Linked DNA regions of Homo sapiens: region 1 is linked to region 2. Evidence: promoter capture Hi-C in 16 types of primary human blood cells and fetal thymus (Javierre and others, 2016). All regions are on one chromosome and are shown on one strand. Each heading gives the region's core, a stretch centred on a gene start or on the middle of the fragment in contact. The rest is flanking DNA. Distances are from core to core; before and after follow the strand shown. Region 1 holds the start of SRSF8 (serine and arginine rich splicing factor 8). Region 2 holds the start of MED17 (mediator complex subunit 17).

Region 1 (3,691 bases), core at 316-2,815, 1.3 Mb before region 2:
GGCTGCGGCTCCGCCGCCCGTAGCTGCGGCTCCGCCGTCCGTAGCCGCCGCCTCTGGACCTGCCGCGTGGCTCTCCCTGGCGGCTGCGGGGCAGGTCCCGGCGGCCATAGCGCGCCACCTGCACCCGCAGCTCGCGTCCGTCCAGCTCCGCCCCGTCCATGGCGGCCTCGGCGTCTTGGGCGTCGCGCCGGTCGTGAAAGCGGACGAAAGCGAAGCCCCGGGGCGCCTTGGTGTGGGGCTCCCGCGGGATGTACACGTCGCCCACGCGCCCGTACTTCTCGAACACGCGCCTCAAGCTGTCGGGAGAGGTGCGGTAGGTCAGGTTGTCCACCTTGAGGGTGATCATGCCGTCCACGTCGGGAGGGGGGCGGCCGCAGCTCATGGCTCCGAGAGCAGCCCGGGCCCGGAAACTGGCGCTGCTCTGGGCGCTGACGGTGCGACCTGCGTTTCTTTCTCGCGGTTGCGCCCCGCGTGGGGACGCCGGGAAAGGCCGGGCGGAGAGGCGGGCGGCGGAGCTCCGCAGGGAGCGCCCTGGAGCAGCAACTTCCGAGTTCCCAATTTCAGGCCAAATACTCCAGGACCCAGAGGAAGGTTTCCTTTTGGTAGCTGAACTCCAAATGAAGCCAGGCCCCGAAGATCCTGGCCTTGTACCTGGGCAACATCCTAACCTAATCAGCGCCCAGCTAATGTAATCACTGGGCTGGATTTACATTAGACGTCCCACCCTCCCATGCTCCTCCCTATTATTCTACGTTTTAAACCAATCTTAAGAACAAAGCTAACTGATTAAAGGTCAATTTATGGGAACAGGCAATCCAGACAAATATTAAACAAAAGAAACCTAGGGCAACAATATTAATATCCAGTGTATTGATAGGATCAAAGGAGCACATTTCATAGTTATTGAAAAGAAAATTCACTAGGAAAACATTACAGTGATGAACTTAACGCACCTAAACACATAACAGTGACACATAGCCAAGACTGAGAGTTATAAGGTAAAACTGAAAAATCTGCACTCATGATGGAAGTTTGTTTTTTCCCCGTAACACCGTTTTCTCAGAAATCAATAGTGCAGAGAACAAAACTAGTAATGCTATAATAATTTGCACAACAAACAACAATTTTGATCATATAACCTGCAACAACCAAAAATATATAGAAAACAGAAGAATTTCCCAATACAAGACTACAAAATAAATGTCAATTAAAATTTAATAGGTCAATAAATTCAGCACATCTGGACCTCAGTGAAATAATATTGAAGGTTAAAAATAAAAAACCTGAATCCAATCATATTTACTTGAAAATTAATAACCACATTTCTAAAACTTTTTTTATGTTGAAGTCAAGCAATTAGTAAAACAAAACCAAAACAAAAAATAAAACATTAAAATAAAAATAGAATTACAAATAAAAGGGACAATATGTTTTTTTAAAAAGATGATTAATAAAACTGAAATCTAACACTTTTAAAGAAAAAAACAATCTAGCAATACTGATGAAGAAATACAGTTTCTAAATCTGGAAAGGAAATATACAGAAAGGGCCTAGAGCATCTTGGAGTGCTGGAAAATAAGGATGTGATAAATAGAAAACAAACAAAAGCATTGATGGGGTAATTTTAGAGGGGTACAAAAACCAATAAAACAGCTCCCAATGGCCAAATCTTGAACAATTTAAGGAACAAACTAAAATACTACTATATCATATTCCAAAATATAAAATAAATATTAATCTGTGCTGTTGTAAATAAATGATTAAATAAATTAACACATTGGAGAAAAGAGAGAAAACTCCTCTGCAGGAGAATTCTAAATTAATTAAATTAATTAAAACGTTGCTGATTTTGAAAATGTTATGTAACCTTATATACATAGAATTGTGCTTTTTATATTTTAATGTATTTTGTGTTTTATTTCCCTCATCTATGTGTTCCATGTAGCTGTACTTGATCCTGTTACCTTGCCGTAAGGCATTCAATGGTATAAATGTTTGTGCTGTTGATGGGCACTTGGGTTGTTTCCACTTTTGGCCTCTTACAGTGTTGCTCAGAACATGCTTGGACATGTATACTGGAGCTCATGTGTCCTCTTAGGTATGAATGGATCCCTTGTCACAGAATACAGGCAGCCCACTGTAACCTCTGGCTTCAGCATCAGTGAATTCAGCCAACTGTGGGTAGAAATTATTCAGAAAAAAAAAACAATAAAAATAAATAGAACATAATACAGTAAACAATTATTTACATAGCATTTTCATCATAATGTAAGTAATCTAGAGATGACTTAAAGTATGTTGGAAAATACGTATAGGTTACATGCTCATACCAAGCCATTTTATATATGGACTTGAAAATCCTCAGAATCCTCAGGGGTTACTAAGGACCAAACCCCATCCACCTGCAGAATATCAAGGGACAACTGTATGTGAATTCAAACTTTACCATGCCTGATTGTTTTTCAACAGTTTTTATCAATTTACACACAGGATAGCTGTGTATGAGGGTGCTCAGTGCTCTTCACTTTTGCAAACCTTTGGTGAATATCAGACTTTTTAGTTTTAGCCAGTTAGGTGAGGGCATTAAGATTTGTTTTACCTGTGATTTCGTCCCCACACAACAGCCTGGGGTGACACAGTGAGATTTTGTCACTTAAAACTTAAAAAAAAAAAATTCATTTCCCTAACTGCAAATGAGAGTGAGTAATTTTTTCACGTTCATTGGCCATTTGGGTATTCTTACTCATAAGCTGCCTATTATGTATTTTGTCCATTTTTCTATTGGGTTGGCGTTCTCTGCACTAGCTCTTTATATATAATGGATATCAGCTCTTTGCTGGATATGAGTAATACAATATCAGTTCACACTCCTTGGTTTGTCATTTCTCTCTTTTTTTCATATCTTTTGATGAACAGAAGTCCCTCTTTATTTCTAATAGTAAAATATTATTTAAAATAGCTAACATACCTGGTGACTATAACATGGCAAACACTGTTCGGTTTACTCTTGGTACAATAAATCATTTAATTCTTATGACCTATAAGAAGATTCATACCTCTAATTTTCAGATGACAGAACTGAGTCATTGAGACATTAAGTCACTTGTTCAAGGCGGTAGAGCTAGCACTGTTAGAGTCAAATATTTAAATGACAACCCCCAAAATGATGCCTTAAAACAAAAAAAAGACTTCTCCCTTATCAAACTGTAATATTTGAGCTGATATCAACAGTACCTCTAAGCACAGATACTGAGACCAGACACAGATACATGTACAGTTGACCCTGGAACAATGAGGGGATTCAGGGTGCTGAATCCCTGTGCAGTTGAAACTCCTCAAATACTTTTGACTCCTCCCAAAACTGAACTACTAAGAGCCTGCTGTTGACTGGAAGTCTTACAGATATCAACGGTTGATTAACACAGATTTTGTATGTGACATGTACTAAATACTGGATTCTTACAGTAAAGAAAACTAGAGAAAAGAAAATGTTTTTAAGAAAATCATAAGGAGGAGAAAATGTATTTACTATACTGTACTATATTTATGGATACCTTAACCATTTACAAGATGAATAGCCTGTCTGAAATGGCTGGCAACCTCACTGCAGACCTCAATGTACCCTACACATCAAGCAATTCAACATTTTCTTATACTGTCGTGACTTTTCTCTGCTTCTTGGGAACATTTC
Region 2 (3,597 bases), core at 312-2,811:
GTAGAGGCAGGAGCTCCCTATGTTGCTCAGGCTGGTCTTGAAGTCTGGGCTCAAGTGATCCTTCCACCTTGGCCTCCAAAAATGTTGGAACTACAGGTGTGAGCCACCATGCCTGTCCTGTTATTTCCGAAATTAAGAAGATCTATCCGACTCCCAGAATAATACAACTATTCTTTCATTATTTCTTCTAACACTTTGTTTTACTTTCTTCATTTGGCACTTCAATCCTCAAAAATTACTGTGGAAATAATTTTTGTGTGAGGTATAAAGTAGTATTTACCTTTTTTTGCAAATAGACCCCTAATAATCCTAACAGCACTGCCCTGAAATGACATCTTTAAATTCCCATTTACACTGGGTGTGCTGCATAACTAAATTAAGAATTTTGATTTTTTTTTCAAAAATCCTTGACAATAATGAGAATCTGAAACCCACTCATTATTTCTTCACTTCCCTCCTAGTCTCCTCCCTTCCAGTTTTGCTTTCCCTATAATTCATTTATTAGAAAGCATCTAGAGTAAACTTTAACAAAACCATCTCTACTTATCCTGCAAAAGCTTTCAGTGGTCTTAACACTAGTCAAACGCTTATCCCGGCCTACTGGGTTCTACATGATCTGGACCCGCCTACCTCTTGGACCTCGTCACACATTTCAGTCAAAACAGACCTCTTTTCTGCAGGTGCTACTATCATCATTCACACCGCACAAGGATGCAAAGTAACTCGCCCAAGGTCACACAGCCGGCAAGGGGCAGAGCCCCGATCTAGGGCTCTTTTAGCCACTAAGTGTGCTACATTAAAGGCCCTCTACAGAGAAGCATTCATTTAAACATTTCACGGTTTGACAGTGTCTCTAAACGCTGCCATTCAAGGAGACCCGCAGGAGTATTACGTAAAGTCGTGTCCTACCTTGTCCGGCAGCAACAAAAAGATGACGACCAAGTATCCTTACGCTTCCGCTAGAGGGACACTCAAAAGTTCTCGCACGCACAAGATCACCCCCATCGCGGGAGAGGCGGAGGCCCGCGCGGGTGCTGGGACCCAGACCGGGGGACTCGGGCAGCGGATGCAGGCCTTACCTTCCTCGTCGTCCTGGTCTGCGCTGGACCCGGCGCCCGGCCACTCCTGCGCGTCGCCCTCGGTCCCCGCCGCCTCCTCCTCCTCGGAGCCCGAACCCTGGCTGAAGTCTATCCGCTGGGCCAGACGCGCCAGATTCTGCGACATGGACAGCGGGGGCAGGTACGTCTCGGTGCCATCCAGGCCCACCTCATGGACCTGCTTCTCGCAGGCCGATTCGATGCTGATCCGCACTGCGCGCACCCCGGACATGCTGGCTGCGTCGGCCAGCGGTGGGAGGACCCCCCACGAGCCAAAAAACGAGGTACGAAGAGGAGGCTTCCCTGCGGAGAGCCGGGAACTCAGAAGCCCGCAGCCGCGGTGCCTCAGAAGACCCTCGGGAAACCGAACGCAACGCTCAGACTGGAAACAAAGGAGCTGGCCCAGCAACTTTCCCAGAACGCACCGCAAGCTCCCTCCTCGGTAAGTCTTTCGGAGCAAAACTGGGCAGGCGCGGAAGCTCCAGGGTTCCCTAGAGCGCTTCCGGTGAATCACGGTGCAGGGTGGGGTAAACTTCCGGGCCTATAAGAGGCGTGGCCGGCAGAGGGAGGGAAAGAGCGGTTTGGGAGCCGAGAGTGTGGCGGGTATATTCCTTGCTTTTTAAGCCTGCGTTTGTTTAAAAAGTGGATGAGGAAAGAAAGCTGCAGAGGCTAGAAGAGTTAAGGAAAAGGAAATTAATGGATCCTTGGATCTTAGCAATGAGAGTCCTGTTGAGAGAACTGAGATCTGGTGGCGCGCGCCTGTGGTCCAGCTACGCGGGTGGCTGAGGCGGGAGAATGGCTTGAGCCCTGGAGATGGAGGCTGCAGTGAGCCGAGATCTCACCGCTGCATTCCAGCCTAAGCAACAGAGTGGGATCCTGCCTCAAAACAAAAGTTATTTTAAATTAGCAAGAAATTTTTTAAAGAAACACTATCTGAAGAGTTAGAAATTAAGGGCATGGCTTGGGGGAAACAATCGTGCTTATCACCACTTAAAATTATACTACGTAATTATTTGGTTTCCTGTTAGTTATAACTCTATGACAGCCAATATCTGCAGCAGACATAATAGACTCTGGCATGTAGTAAGTGCTTAATATTTATTTTATGCCCGAGTAACAGAATAAATAATGTTGATCTCGCTTTTTTATTAGTGATGGGGTCCCACTATGTTGCCCAGGCTGAGTGCAGAGGTTATTCACAAGTGCTGTCAGCACGCTACAGCCTGGAGCTCCTGGGCTCCAACGATGCTCCTGCCTTAGCCTCCTGAGGAGCTGGGACTATAGGAGCGTGTCACCATGCCTGGCCTGCAAATAATATTTAAAAGATTAAGAAGAAGTGGTATAACTTCAGTCTTTGGGTCTCCAAGAACGTATTTCATTAGTAGGAATTCCACAGACAAAGATGGATTATTTTATATTACAAACCTCTATATTTCGTTTAAGGAATTATATATACCGTTTATCATGAGTGTTTGCCAGGTTTTGTTCTGACCAAGATATATCTAGGTTTTGAACTACTTTCCTAAGGTATTTAGGAAAATACGGTTGCCCTGGTGTCAGTCCCTGCTGAAGAAGAAAGTAGATGGCCGTGTGTGGAGGGGGTTGAATTTTCATGAGAGAAACCTATTTCTGGCAAGCTGTACAGTCTGTCGCCCAATCATGTTCGAGAACCACTGTACTTGCTTTTCGTGTAAATTTGTTTAAAAATTTTTTTTAACTTTATTTTAAAATCTGATTAATAGCCAGGCGCAGTGGCAGTCTAATAGTGCAGACAAAAACAAGACAACAACAAATGATTATGATTCCTAGAATAAGCAAAGCTTTTGCCACCAAGTCTTCAAGATCAAAACTAGCTGCTTAGCCAGTTGTTTAAAGATGTGTTGGATCTGAAAGGTTAGTTGTTAAGGTTTTCATATTATCCATTAACGTAGTGATATTATCTGATTCATCTGGGATACAGACATAACACACAGTTTTTATGATAATGCAAGTTCCTCCCTGGGCTTCGGTGAGTATGTCAAAAGCCATACGGTTTTGTAATAATGGCCTTTTCCATAAGAATAACTATTGTTTAATAATGGAATACTTATGTAGCTATCTTTTGGGTATAATTGGTTAGGACCTCTATATGCCAAATAACATCTTCAACACTCAGTTGTGGTATGAAGATGGAAGCTAAGTGATCATACCAATGAAACACAGGATGAACCCAATGAGATCATAAATAAGGAAAATTTGCAGGTTTTGGCAAAGTACAAACTACTCAAATATATGATTAAGCATAACCTGAAAAACATCATCCTAACTATCCTGGAAGTAACCATGGTCATAGGTTAGTGCCACATAGCCAAAATGTTCCATTTGGAGCTAATCAATAAATACATTAAATGGCATGCCAGTCAGTACTTTGTAATATAATGGTGTGAATACACAGTTCTTTGGGTATCCATGCCATATCTCCAGTGCTTTTGGGCCAGATATCTTTGGTATGATTTCTTTG

What was found. The method cuts DNA at HindIII sites, captures the fragments that hold promoters and counts their contacts. A CHiCAGO score of 5 or more calls a contact.
Region 1: a contact is called between a fragment that was not itself captured here and the fragment with the promoter of MED17 in region 2, in 2 of 17 cell types (naive CD8 T cells and total CD8 T cells). The highest score is 8.0, in naive CD8 T cells.

The regions. Positions count from the first base shown.
Region 1 is chr11:95,063,918-95,067,608 of GRCh38, reverse strand. SRSF8 (serine and arginine rich splicing factor 8) reads right to left here and starts at 690. Exons shown (of 1, transcript NM_032102.4): 1 at 1-690. The coding sequence starts at 382. RefSeq lists enhancers at 195-384, 109-866 and a silencer at 635-714. The HindIII fragment of the contact is 4,351 bases long and covers 1-3,691 here.
Region 2 is chr11:93,782,246-93,785,842 of GRCh38, reverse strand. It overlaps MED17 (mediator complex subunit 17), which reads right to left and starts at 1,561. Exons shown (of 12, transcript NM_004268.5): 1 at 1,080-1,561. The coding sequence starts at 1,329. RefSeq lists silencers at 829-1,023, 1,025-1,154 and enhancers at 1,285-1,504, 1,446-1,740. The HindIII fragment of the contact is 2,360 bases long and covers 560-2,919 here.